Regions from separate parts of the Homo sapiens genome. Here regions 2 and 3 are each linked to region 1. Evidence: promoter capture Hi-C in 16 types of primary human blood cells and fetal thymus (Javierre and others, 2016). All regions are on one chromosome and are shown on one strand. Each heading gives the region's core, a stretch centred on a gene start or on the middle of the fragment in contact. The rest is flanking DNA. Distances are from core to core; before and after follow the strand shown.

Region 1 (4,157 bases), core at 1,658-4,157:
TCTACCCAGACCTCACCTCCCTTCCTCCTTTTGCCCATGAACAAGATGCAGTGGCCCTAGGGGTTCCACTAGTGTCTGCTTTCCTTTATTATTGCACTGTGTGAGGTTTTTTTGTAAATCCTTGTATTCCTATTTTTTTTAAAGAAAAAAAAAAAACCTTAAGCTGCATTTGTTACTGAAATGATTAATGCACTGATGGGTCCTGAATTCACCTTGAGAAAGACCCAAAGGCCAGTCAGGGGGTGGGGGGAACTCAGCTAAATAGACCTAGTTACTGCCCTGCTAGGCCATGCTGTACTGTGAGCCCCTCCTCACTCTCTACCAACCCTAAACCCTGAGGACAGGGGAGGAACCCACAGCTTCCTTCTCCTGCCAGCTGCAGATGGTTTGCCTTGCCTTTCCACCCCCTAATTGTCAACCACAAAAATGAGAAATTCCTCTTCTAGCTCAGCCTTGAGTCCATTGCCAAATTTTCAGCACACCTGCCAGCAACTTGGGGGAATAAGCGAAGGTTTCCCTACAAGAGGGAAAGAAGGCAAAAACGGCACAGCTATCTCCAAACACATCTGAGTTCATTTCAAAAGTGACCAAGGGAATCTCCGCACAAAAGTGCAGATTGAGGAATTGTGATGGGTCATTCCCAAGAATCCCCCAAGGGGCATCCCAAATCCCTGAGGAGTAACAGCTGCAAACCTGGTCAGTTCTCAGTGAGAGCCAGCTCACTTATAGCTTTGCTGCTAGAACCTGTTGTGGCTGCATTTCCTGGTGGCCAGTGACAACTGTGTAACCAGAATAGCTGCATGGCGCTGACCCTTTGGCCGGAACTTGGTCTCTTGGCTCCCTCCTTGGCCACCCACCACCTCTCGCACAGCCCCTCTGTTTTTACACCAATAACAAGAATTAAGGGGGAAGCCCTGGCAGCTATACGTTTTCAACCAGACTCCTTTGCCGGGACCCAGCCCGCCACCCTGCTCGCCTCCGTCAAACCCCCGGCCAATGCAGTGAGCACCATGTAGCTCCCTTGATTTAAAAAAAATAAAAAATAAAAAAAAAAGGAAAAAAAAATACAACACACACACAAAAATAAAAAAAATATTCTAATGAATGTATCTTTCTAAAGGACTGACGTTCAATCAAATATCTGAAAATACTAAAGGTCAAAACCTTGTCAGATGTTAACTTCTAAGTTCGGTTTGGGATTTTTTTTTTTTAATAGAAATCAAGTTGTTTTTGTTTTTAAGGAAAAGCGGGTCATTGCAAAGGGCTGGGTGTAATTTTATGTTTCATTTCCTTCATTTTAAAGCAATACAAGGTTATGGAGCAGATGGTTTTGTGCCGAATCATGAATACTAGTCAAGTCACACACTCTGGAAACTTGCAACTTTTTGTTTGTTTTGGTTTTCAAATAAATATAAATATGATATATATAGGAACTAATATAGTAATGCACCATGTAACAAAGCCTAGTTCAGTCCATGGCTTTTAATTCTCTTAACACTATAGATAAGGATTGTGTTACAGTTGCTAGTAGCGGCAGGAAGATGTCAGGCTCACTTTCCTCTGATTCCCGAAATGGGGGGAACCTCTAACCATAAAGGAATGGTAGAACAGTCCATTCCTCGGATCAGAGAAAAATGCAGACATGGTGTCACCTGGATTTTTTTCTGCCCATGAATGTTGCCAGTCAGTACCTGTCCTCCTTGTTTCTCTATTTTTGGTTATGAATGTTGGGGTTACCACCTGCATTTAGGGGAAAATTGTGTTCTGTGCTTTCCTGGTATCTTGTTCCGAGGTACTCTAGTTCTGTCTTTCAACCAAGAAAATAGAATTGTGGTGTTTCTTTTATTGAACTTTTAACAGTCTCTTTAGTAAATACAGGTAGTTGAATAATTGTTTCAAGAGCTCAACAGATGACAAGCTTCTTTTCTAGAAATAAGACATTTTTTGACAACTTTATCATGTATAACAGATCTGTTTTTTTTCCTTGTGTTCTTCCAAGCTTCTGGTTAGAGAAAAAGAGAAAAAAAAAAAAGGAAAATGTGTCTAAAGTCCATCAGTGTTAACTCCCTGTGACAGGGATGAAGGAAAATACTTTAATAGTTCAAAAAATAATAATGCTGAAAGCTCTCTACGAAAGACTGAATGTAAAAGTAAAAAGTGTACATAGTTGTAAAAAAAAGGAGTTTTTAAACATGTTTATTTTCTATGCACTTTTTTTTATTTAAGTGATAGTTTAATTAATAAACATGTCAAGTTTATTGCTGCACATGGTTAAGCTTCCTTTTGGCTTTGGTTGGAGAGGGTGGAGAAAAGCGGGAGGGGCATGGCCTGTGACCTGGTCACAAAGTACCTTCCACAGTCCTTTACTTTAAGGTGGCATCACTAAATTATTCCCTGTAGCCCACCTTCAGGTCCACTCCACACTGGCTCTCTTGACTATTTTCTTCCTTTATTCATCAGTGATGTATGTTCAGGACCTAATTAATTGTGGATATGAGGCAGGGTCAAGAGGACAAAGGAACAGGGCCTTTACCTTCTACATAGCTCCCCTGTTTCATCCAAGGAGGTTAAGTATTGATTTTTATCGGTTTTCTCAACTGTGAATATAATAAACTGAAAGCATTTCAGGGAGAAGCTGGAGAACACCTTCTCTAGCTGCACTCCACCTTAAGGCTGAAGCTGGATTTGTTTACTGTTTCTCCTGGGGGCAGGGGCAGTTGAGAAATAACCAAGTAGTCTGCCAAGCCAGGGTCAACCCTCCAGGCCACAGGTTGAGCAAATGCTACAGCCATGGACAGGGAGACACTCCTCACGAAGGGGTGGTCCTCATCCTTTCAGATCAACTTCCTGCTGGAGGCTCCACCCTCACCACGTCCCTCCCTCTTCTCTCATCTGGAGTCACCTTTTGGGATTTTGGAGTTGAGCACCATGGGGACTCCAAATGATCAGGCAGTGCTGCAGGCCATCTTCAACCCTGACACCCCATTTGGAGACATTGTTGGATTGGACCTCGGAGAGGAAGCAGAAAAGGAAGAACGAGAAGAAGGTGGGCATTTGATCTGGAGTGTAGCTCTGCACATAGGCTGGCCTGCTGGCCTCCCGAGGTAGCAGAGAGGGAGGTGGTTTTATAAGGCCCCTTGTTCCATGATTATGATTGAGATTGGAATCAGAGAGGTTGGCTGCTCCTTAGCGCACTGATGGGGGTTTGGTAAGAGATGTCCTGCCAAGAGGAGTAAGCTGGGGTTTGTCTCTCGATCCATCAGCTCTCATGCCTCTGAACTTACCACTTAATTGACTGTATGATCCAAGCTTAACTGCCAGGTGATGTTAAACTCTCACATTTTTGTCATAACAGAGAATACCACCACCAGAACAGAAGACTGAAATAAGGCAGGGCATGGTTGCTCAGTTGAGTGGTTCCAATATAGCAAGCACAACCAGTAACCGTTAAACACTGTCACAAGCCAAGCTCCAAACTAACTCTTCCGCAGTGAGTGCGTTCACTGGCTTTTCCATTAATCCCTAATGAAGGAGTTTTTGATCCTTTGTTTCTAGAGGAGTAAAGCCTACACCTTACTAACTCAGGCCGAAACACAGAGGGATACGTCAGAAGTGATGTTCATGATCTGGGAATGTCATGGTGGCCTTTGCATAAGAGGCGGTGTAGTAGAGTAAAATGCAGACAGGAGCCAGAATGACCTGGGTTCAAATCCAAGCTCTGCAACGTATGGCCTGTTGAGGCCATACACAAAGAACTTGAGCAACTTCTTTAACAGATTGAGGAGTCTGGGCTTCATTCTCTTGGCAATGGGGAACCAACCAAGGCCCCTTCCCAGGTCTCTTGGAACTCAGGCAATGCTAGCTCCCAGCCTTAGTGACCTCATCTCCCCCTACCCCAAACACTGCAACTGACCCCTGCTGTGACCCATACCCAGTCAGCTCTGGCTCAGATCTCAGAATTCCAAAGCCTGAGGTGGCTTTTTCTTCTTGCTACCAACTGCACACCTGGCTTCTCCTGGCTCCTTCCCTGGCCCAGATGAAGTTTTCCCTCAAGCACAGCTGGAACAGTCCAAGGCCCTGGAGCTGCAGGGGGTGATGGCAGCAGAGGCTGGGGACCTCAGCACAGCCCTGGAGAGGTTTGGCCAAGCCATCTGCCT
Region 2 (4,976 bases), core at 1,173-3,672, 81 kb before region 1:
GTGAAGTACCAGTGGGCAGCATCGGTCCAGTAGCATTTATTTCAGGAGCTGGAGTTTCTTCCGTATATAGTGTTTTATCCATTTTCTTGCATTTCTGGTTTTGTGTTTTGTTGGGATGTTTGGGTATAGATGTTTTGATGTCTTTCAGCAACAAAAGATATGAATCTTTCTAACATTCATACTGTTTTAGAGAGATCCACTTGTATTATCTATGCTTTGCTGAAGCATCATTGTTTCATTCTTATTTTACAGCATCAAGGTAATGGTAGCTTTCTGTCTTGAATTAGGAGAGTGATATTACTTGTGAGAAGGGTTTTGGAGAATAGTTTTTTCTTTAGGCTGTCCTTTATACTATCTCAGTTCTAAACACTAGGGAAAAGTTAATTCTTATCTCTAATAAATATCCTACACCTAGAGAAAGAAATATTTACACATGCCCATATTCAACTTCTGTCCATCCATGAGGATTGACCACTTTTTAGATCAAACACAAACATTGTCCCTAGATTATTGCCTTTAATTATAAGCAGTAAAACCTTGTGGATAACATCTCTTTAAGCTTAGCTAATGAGGAAATCCTTTTGTAATCTCTTTGGCTAGGATTTTTTATTTGTGCATATATAAATACCTTTACAGAAGAAAGGGAGAATCTCATAATCTAATCTGTAGTGGTGTGAGATCGTTTAGCATAGTAATTAAGAGTTGTTAAGACCATGGGCTCTGGATTTAAACTGCCTGAGTTCAAATCTAAGCTCAGCCATCTTGAAAAAGTTTTTTTTGTGTTTTGTTTGGTTTGTTTGAGACAGGATCTTGCTTTGTTGCCTAGGCTAGAGTGTAATGGCACAAACATTTCATTTCAGCCTCAACCTCCAGGGCTCAAGCAATCCTCTTGTCTCAGCCTCCTAAGTAGCTGGGACTACAGGCATGCACCACCACACTCAGCTAATTGTTTTATTTGTTGTAGAGATGGGAGTCTCACCATGTTGCCCAGGTTGGTCTTGAACTCCTGGCCTCAAGTGGTCCCCCTACCTCAGCCTCCCAAAGTGTTGGGATTACAAATGTGAGGCACTGCACCCAACCAGAAAAGTTTTTGAACCTCTCCATACCTCTGTTTCTTCATTTGTAACTGAGAGGTACTCATGCTTCATAGTCTCATTGTGAGGCTTAAGTGAGATCATGCATGTAAGCACTTAGCATTTTGCCTGGCACATAGGAAGCCCTAATTGTTAGAACCAAGAGATTGAAAGGAGAGCAGGGTTATAATCTTTTTTTTTCATCAAAATAACTGGTTTTTATTACATTAAGTTATACCTGTATATGTATGCATACATACACCTATTTGAGTGCTATAATCTTAGAATGTTCTTGATATTAGTCTGAGTGTCAAGTTCTTCTATAAACTAGGTGGAACCAAATTGAAGGCCAGCCACCCGTCTTGGTAACAACATTAGTGTCCAACTAAAGCATATTAAAGATAAGGCAAAAAAGAAGAAAGAGAACAAGATGGTAAATAGGCAAGTAAGATACCGAGGAACACAGTGCCTCCATGAGTTGCTAATTATCAGGCCAAGGCAGCTATAATGGGGTTGCTACCTGTTGTCTCTATAACTAGTGTTCCTGATATTTTTATGAGGAGGCACTTGGTCGTTCCTTATAACAGCTCTGAGGCTCTTCAGGGTTCTTGGGCTCCAGGTTCAGACCCATTAGTCTATACTTGATGACATTTGTTCTTAAGTGTCAGCTTGAGGAGAATGAGTGCTGGTCTACAGAGATCAATGCAAGTAACCATTTAATTATAGAAGAAATGCTGAATTGTAGGTTGCAATTTCTGGGGGTTGGAACTTGAGCAGAATGGTCAAAAGCAGATTAGAGTTTAAGAATAACTAGTAAAGAGTAGTGTGTTTAAGGAGGAAAAGTACAGTTTTGGGTTGGGCGCAGTGGCTCACGCCTATAATCCCAGCACTTTGGGAGGCCAAGGCGGGAAGATTGCCTGAGGTCAGGAGTTCGAGACCAGCCTGGCTAACATGGTGAAACCCTGTCTCTACTAAAAATACAAAAATTAGCTGGGTGTGGTGGTTGCGCACCTGTATCCCCAGCTACTCGGGAGGCTGAGGCAGGAGAATCGCCTGAACCCAGGAGGTGGAGGTTGCAGTAAGCTGAGATTCCGCCACTACACTCCAGCCTGGGCGAAAGAGCAAGACTCTGTCTCCAAAAAAAAGAAAGAAAAAAAGAAAAGTACAGTTTTGCTGTACTCTCTTTAAAAAGATTTGCAGGCCGGGTGGGGTGGCTCAATCCTGTAATCCCAACACTTTGGAAGGCCGAGGCAGGCAGATCACTTGAGGTCAGGAGTTTGAGACCAGCCTGGCCAACATGGTGGAACCCTGTCTCTACTTAAAATACAATAATTAGCTACATGTCGTGGTGCACACCTGCAATCCCAGCTACTTGGGGGGCTGAGGCATGAGAATCGCTTGAACCCGGGAGGCAGAGGTTGCAGTGAGCTGAGATCACACCACTGCATTCCATCCTGGAGGATAGAGTGAGACTGTGTCTCAAAAGAAAGAAAAGAAAAGAAAAGAAAAGATTTGCTAACATACTCAGTACACCATCAGAAACCATCAATACACCTCAGAAACTGAGGCACAGACAAGTTAAACAGTTTTCCTTAAGTTATATGGCTAGTAAGTGGCAGGGCTAGAATTTAAATCTGAACCTACATCTGTTTGAAAGTTGATTCTTGCTCTCTACACTGTGCTGTCTTTAAGTCCTTTCTCTTCCCACTCACATCCAATCAATTTCTGAGTCTTGTCCATTATATTATTGTAGTGTTTCTTTCATTTGTCCCTGCTGTTCTGTTCCTGCTGTCCTAGTTTAAATTTCCATTACTTTTGGATAGTTTATTGTGGTAATCTTCTCATTGGTCTTCCCACCTATCTTTTCACCCTACACAGTGCTTCACAATATGATAGTTTTCTTAAATACAGATCAGAGTATGTCACTTTATTCCTAAAATTCTTTGGCTTCTCACTGAATATGAAATAAAATTTCAGATTCTCAGCGCTGCATGATCTTGCTAGCCTGTATTTCTAAATTTTGAACCGTGTCTCCTGAATGTACATCGTTACTGCTTCAACCACATTGGACTACTGAACTATTAGGTGTTCTCCACAGTCTTTGTTTATCTGCCTTTGTACCTTTGCTAAAGCCTCTCCTTTGCCTTAAAGTCTTTCCCATTTTGACCTGTCTTGGGCTTATTATTCGTCTCCCATGGTTCAACTCAGATCCCCAGATCCTAACTCTTCCATGAAGTTTTCACAGATTGTACTGCTAGTTGAAACTGAACTTCTTTCCTGTTTTCTTTTTGTGTTTTGTATGTTATCCTTAAAAAATTTAACCCCGTATACCTTATGTCGTGGTACTTTTGAAATGTGTCTGTCTTTGTCCCATTAGATAGTGACTCCCTTAAGACACGGGCCATTTCTAAGTCATCATTTATGTTTTATGTTTTTTATAATGGTGACTTTTTATATAGTATTTGTTGAATTGAAAATTTGATGTCCATACAACTTTTAGGAATACTTTGCTGGGACACATTACATAAACTAGGAGAACTTAAGACTACGAACAGAATATTTGGACTAATCATTAAGAAATACTAATTTAAGTATGGCAAAGGAAAGCACAGGTGCCATGATGCGACATTTTTGTAAAGGTATTGATTGGGGTTTTGAAAGCGATGTTAGGGTATCCTGATGGGATGGCATTATCTTTTATGTAGATAATACTTAGCACTGATCATCCCCTTACTTGAGTGTTGTTTCCATTTCTAGGTTCCTCAACTTAAAAGGGATGAGGAGACCTTGGAGACGGTTCTGAGGAGACTCAAAAGATGATTATATGATTGGAAGTCAGTCCTATGAGGAAAGGTTGAGAGAATGAAAGGTTAAGAGGCAACTTAATAACTCTTCAAAAAACATGAATGGATCCATTATTAGGAATGGTAACCAGCGGTTTCCCAGCTCCACTGACAGCAGAATAAGAGAAAATAGGTTTAAACCGAAATCAGGAGTAGTTGTGTAAAGAACTTATTGGTAATGATGGTTGTCATTACAGTCATGGTAAAAAGGTTACCAAAATAATTTTATTATCTTCTCTGGAAGTATATTTTAAAAGTACAGTCCTGCCTACATATGTATAAAATGACCTCTTAAGCTACCTTTTCCTTCTGTGAATCAGTAAATAAATTCTTATTCAGCTCCTCGAAGCAATAATTACTTTCCAGTAGGAAGCTTCCAGAGATATTTCTTTAGGAAGTAATGGTTTTTGTAGTGGCTTTATAGGAGAATACAAATTTTTAAGTGGAGCTAAGAGAGAAATCTTAAACATCAAGAGAAACCAAGGAAAACAGTAGGTGTGGTATCAATATAGGAAACAAATAAGTATTTGTAGCTTTTATGTCCATTTTCAGTTGTCATTTAAAGAGGTATAGTTCAGAATAGCTCTTGTTAAGGCTGTCACTGCTTGTGGATACATTGTAACAAATGCTTATAAATCATTTCCAAACTAATAGAAGTTTGCTTCATGTTAGTTAGTATTATAAAAGCCTCTGACCCTTGGCTTTTGAGGCTGTGTAGAGGGCTTGCATCACTCAGAATGAAACCTTTTTAGATATGTTGGGTTGCAGAAAGCATTTCCTGTACAGTCAGAATGAAAACTTGAATTGGGATTATTCATATAGATTACCAAAAGTCTGGGCAGAGCTGATATTACCACCAGCCAGTTTTCCTACTAACTCTTAACTCCAAAACCTTCATTGGGTTATTGAAGCTTTAGGACTTTTGAATTTCCTACTGGAATTGTGTATGAATTCCTTCTTTCAAGTGAACTGATACTAGATTTATTTAAGATTAGTTATACATCTTAAGTATTTTTTAAGTGGCATATAATGAATGGTCTCTACTTTTAACCAGTCTCAT
Region 3 (4,642 bases), core at 663-3,162, 97 kb before region 1:
TGTGGTACAAATTCTATCATGTCGGTTCCTGCTCAAAATTTTTCAAATGTTTCCTAACCTTTATAGAATAAAATTCAAACTCTTTAATATGCTCTGGCCAGTCATCTTCTGACACTTTCCCACATGTATCTTTTTTTTTTTTTTTTTTTTCCCAGACAAAGTCTCACTCAGTCTCCCAGGCTGGAGTGCAATGGTGTGGTCACGGCTCACTGCAGCCTCAACTTTCCAGGCTCAAGGGATCTTCCCACCTCAGCCTCCCAAGTAGCTAGGACTAGAGGCACATAACATCACATCCGGCTAATTTTTTCATTTATTTTTTGTAGAAACGAGGTCTCACTGTGTTTCCCAGGCTGCTTTTGAACTCCTAGGCTCAAGCGATCCGCCTGACTCAGCCTCCCAAAGTGCTGGGATTACAGGCATGAGCCACCTGCCCAGCCACCCACATATATCTTTTTTGTTGTTGTTGAGGCAGAATCTCAACCTCAGCTAACTGCAACCTCCGCCTCCTAGGTTCAAGCAATTGTCGTGGAGCTGGAATTACAGGCGTGCACCACCACACTCAGCTAATTTTTTTATTTTTAGTAGAGACATGGTTTCGCCATTTTGGCCAGGCTGGTCTCGAACTCTAGCCTCAGGTGATCTGCCCGCCTCGGCCTCCTAAAGTGCTGGGATTACCGTCGTGAGCCACTGCGCCCCGCCACATATCTTATGTTTAAATAATACCGAAGTACTCTTTGTTTCTCAAAAACCCCATGCCTTTTCCTGCTTCTGTGAAAGTTTTATGACGTAGCACCTTTGTATCTCCAGCTCTAACGTAGTACCTGGTACAAAGTAGGTGCTCAACAAATGCTTGTTGAATAAATAAAAGGACAAAAGAAAATCAGAAAGCACAAAGGTTGAAAGTAAGGACACTGACCAGAAGACTACTATGAGAGTACAATTTGGAGTAATCAGGAAGAGAAGGAAAGAAAATGCTTTAGTGTAACATTTCCTTCAAGCTTCTACAAGGTGAAACAATCATAATCAAATAATAATTACTCCTGTAATTAGTCTCTTTGAAAAATATGAACTTTTGTCATTGGTACAATTTCAAATGGGGACTGCTTAAGTGATTTGAAATAAAATGTTTCTTAAAAACACACACACACACACAAAAACCCAAACAGCCCAGGACATGACATGTAACTGCCAAAATCCTGACAAAACATGACCCTTTGGGTATAAATCCCAAGGTCCAAGAGTGCATCTGGGAAGAGTCATTTATTTTGCAAACATTAATTGGGTGGTATAGACACCGTTCAGCACAGGGGATAAAATGATAAGTAATACACGGTTTCCTGTCCTCAAAGAGCTCATGGTCCAAGAAGCATCTAGCCCTTGCCTTTGCGCAGAACTCTACTGAATTCTTTTCTTTTTTTTCGAAATGGAGTCTCACTCTGTCGCCAAGTCTAGAGTGCAGTGGTGTGATCGCAGCTCACTGCAACCTCTGCCTCCCAGGTTCAAGCGATTCTCCTGCCTGGGCCTCCCGAGTAGCTGGGACTACAGGCATTCGCCACCATGCCTGGCTAATTTTTGTATATTTAGTAGAGACAGGGTTTTGTCATGTTGGCCAGGCTGGTCTCGAACTCCTGACCTCTTTACAGAAAGCCAGATGCCTATGCTAGGGTTGTATTTAAAGTCCTTTTAGGCTGGGCACGGTGGCTTATGCTTATAATCCCAGCACTTTGGAAGCCGAAGCCGAACTCCTGACCCGCACTTAAGGTCGGGAGTTCGAGACCAGCCTGGTCAAGGTGGCGAAACCTTATCTCTACTAAAAGTACAAAAATTAAGGCTGGGTGCAGTGGCTCACACCTGTAATCCCAGCATTTTGGGAGGCTGGGATGGATGGATCACTTGAGGTCAGGAGTTCAAGACCAGCCTGGCCAACATGGTGAAACCCTGTCTCTACTAAAAATACAAAAATTAGCTGGGCTTGGTGACACACACCTGTAATCCCAGCTACTAGGGAGGCTGAGGTGGGAGAATTCCTTGAGCCCGGAAGGTGGAGGTTGCAGTGAACTGAGATCACGCCACTGCACTCCAGCCTGGATGACAGAGCGAGACTCTGTCTCAAAAAAAAAAAAAAAAAAAAAAGTACAAAAATTAGCCGGGTGTCGTGGTGGGCGCCTGTAATCCCAGCTACTCAGGAGGCTGAGGCTGGAGAATCGCTTGAACTCTGGGGCGGAGGTTGCAGTGAGCCGAGTTTGCACCACTGCACCCCAGCCTGGACGAGAGTGAGACTCTGTCTCAAACAAACAAAAAAGTCCTTTTAGTCATAGGAATAGCTATATATAATTTATTTTTTTGAGATGAAGTTTTGCTCTTGTTGCCCAGGCTGGAGTGCAATGACGCAGTCTCGACTCACCGCAACCTCTGCCTCCCGGGTTCAAGCGATTCTCCTGCCTCAGCCTCCCAAGTAGCTGGGATTACAGGCATGCGCCACCACGCCCAGCTAATTTTGTATTTTTAGTAGAGACAGGGTTTTCTCCATGTTGGCCGGGCTGGTTTCGAATTCCCAACCTCAGGTCACCCACCCACCTTGGCCTCCCAAAGTGCTGGGATTACAGGCGTGAGCCACCACGCCCGGCCAATATATATAATTTTTTTTTTTTAAAGCTCAGAAATGGAAATTCACGGATTCAGGGTAAAATGCAGCCATTGCTTCCTTAATTAGAAGAGTGTTTTTGTGGAAGAGTAATGGACTGTACCCTTTTTTCCCCAGAAAAAAAGCAGCACCTGAGGATTCTGAACAGTTCTCTGCTCAGTGATGATCAAGCCTTCCTTTGGACAAGCTTAAATAACTCAGCCACTGTTCTTTGTTGGAGGACTTTGGGACTACTGATGCAATGTGTCCACTTGGGGGCCCTTTGGAGAAAAAATTGCTAATTTCAGAGGGGCAGCCGCACCAGTGGTTAAGGAAATCCCTGGGGAGAAAATGTTTCTGTCTGGATTAGAGAGAAGACATCTTATTTACTCATTCAATCTTCATGATAATCTTGTGAAGCTATAATTAATATCCTTATTTTTGCAGATTAGGAAACTAAGACGTACTGAGGCTGGGTGCCTGGTTCAAGATCATATAGCTAACATTATTGGACATGCAAATCAAGCCCAGATTTGTGACTCTGAGCTGATGTTAATTCTGTCACAATATTGGTTCTCAAGATAAATCTTTCCAGGTGAGGGGGAAAGGGAATAAATATCTAGAAGTCCCCTTAAACAGAAGTAATTAATTCGTTTGCAGAAATTGGCAAAATTTGGGGTTCCCTTCTTAAAAGTTTCCTTCTGTCACTTGGAAAAAATTTAAAATATGTGCATTAGGTTGACAAAGATCAAAAAAGTTAAAAAAAAAACCCTTTTTGGAATGCTGTGGAGAAAGGAGCACTTTTATTTATCTATTATTTATTTTATTTTATTTTATTTTATTAATTAATTATTTTTTTTCTTTTTCTGAGACAAGGTCTCATCTCACTCTCTTGCCCAGGCTAGAGTGCAGTGGCCTGATCTCAGCTCACTGCAGCCTCAGCCACCTCAGCTCCACTAGCAGCTGGGACTACAGGCACATGCCAAGTTTCCCAGGCTGGTCTCAAACTCCTGAGCTCAAGATCCTCCCATCTCAGCCTCCCGAAGTCCTGGAATTATGAAAGAGGCACTCTTTTTTTCTTCTTCTTTTTTTTTTTTTTTTTTGAGACACTCTTCTCCGTCTTCCAGGTTAGAGTGCAGTGGGGTGATTTTGGCTCATTGCAACCTCCACCTCCCCGGTTCAAGTGATTCTGGTGCCTCAGCCTCCTGAGTAGCTAGGACTACAGGTGTGTGCCACCACGCCAGGCTAATTTTTCTATTTTTAGTAGAGACGGAGTTTTGCCATGTTGGCCAGGTTGATCTCGAACCCCTGACCTCAGGTGATTTGCCCACCTCTGCCTCCCAGAAGTGTTGGAATTACAGTCATGAGCCACTGCACCCAGCCAAAAGGCACTCTAGAACATTGCTGGTGGGAGTATGAATTAGCATAACCTTTACCGGGGACAACTTGGCACTGTCTATTAAAACTACAAATGTACATACCTTTTGACTCAGCAACTGCTCTTCTAGAAATCTATACTACAGATACATTTGAACATTTGCAAAATGACGTATATTAAAGGTTATGCACTGCAGCATTGTGTGAAATACATGCAACAGATTGGAAACAACTCAAGTGCCCACCGATAGAGAACTGATTAAAGTAAGCTCTATCTCTATTCCATACAGCCCCAATAATGAGGAAACTGTCTACTTATAGTAATATTTCCAAGATATAAGTGAAATAAGCAAGATTCAGGAAATTGGTTTGATATGCTTTTATTTATGCAAAAACTTCTATATGTGTATGCTTTTGTAGGCATAGACTATGTATGGAAGAATATACAATAGACTGATAACAGTTACTCCTACTAAAGGGTAAGTAATATTACTGAGGTTGGGGAGAGGATGATTCAGAGCAAAAATAAAGTGAGGACTTTAAGGACTTTAATTCCTTTAATTTTTTTTTTTTTTTTTTTTTTTTGAGATGGAGTCTTGCTCTGTCGCCCAGGCTGGAGTGCAATGGTGGGATCTAAGCTCC

Evidence for each region. The method cuts DNA at HindIII sites, captures the fragments that hold promoters and counts their contacts. A CHiCAGO score of 5 or more calls a contact.
Region 2: a fragment that was not itself captured here is called in contact with the fragment with the promoter of TTC36 in region 1 in 1 of 17 cell types (endothelial precursors); the score reaches 5.5 in endothelial precursors.
Region 3: a contact is called between a fragment that was not itself captured here and the fragment with the promoter of TTC36 in region 1, in 1 of 17 cell types (endothelial precursors). The highest score is 5.2, in endothelial precursors.

What each region holds. Positions count from the first base shown.
Region 1 is chr11:118,524,567-118,528,723 of GRCh38, forward strand. It overlaps TTC36 (tetratricopeptide repeat domain 36), which reads left to right and starts at 2,908. Exons shown (of 3, transcript NM_001080441.4): 1 at 2,908-3,046; 2 at 4,037-4,157. The coding sequence starts at 2,929. It overlaps KMT2A (lysine methyltransferase 2A), which reads left to right. Exons shown (of 36, transcript NM_001197104.2): 36 at 1-2,266. The region is part of intron 1 of TTC36-AS1 (TTC36 and KMT2A antisense RNA 1); the gene reads right to left. The HindIII fragment of the contact is 1,033 bases long and covers 2,275-3,307 here.
Region 2 is chr11:118,443,795-118,448,770 of GRCh38, forward strand. All of the region lies in intron 1 of KMT2A (lysine methyltransferase 2A), which reads left to right. Among named protein-coding and RNA genes, the nearest start is that of KMT2A, 9.8 kb to the left of the region's middle. The HindIII fragment of the contact is 3,730 bases long and covers 558-4,287 here.
Region 3 is chr11:118,428,263-118,432,904 of GRCh38, forward strand. No RefSeq gene overlaps it. Among named protein-coding and RNA genes, the nearest start is that of KMT2A, 5.9 kb to the right of the region's middle. The HindIII fragment of the contact is 1,833 bases long and covers 997-2,829 here.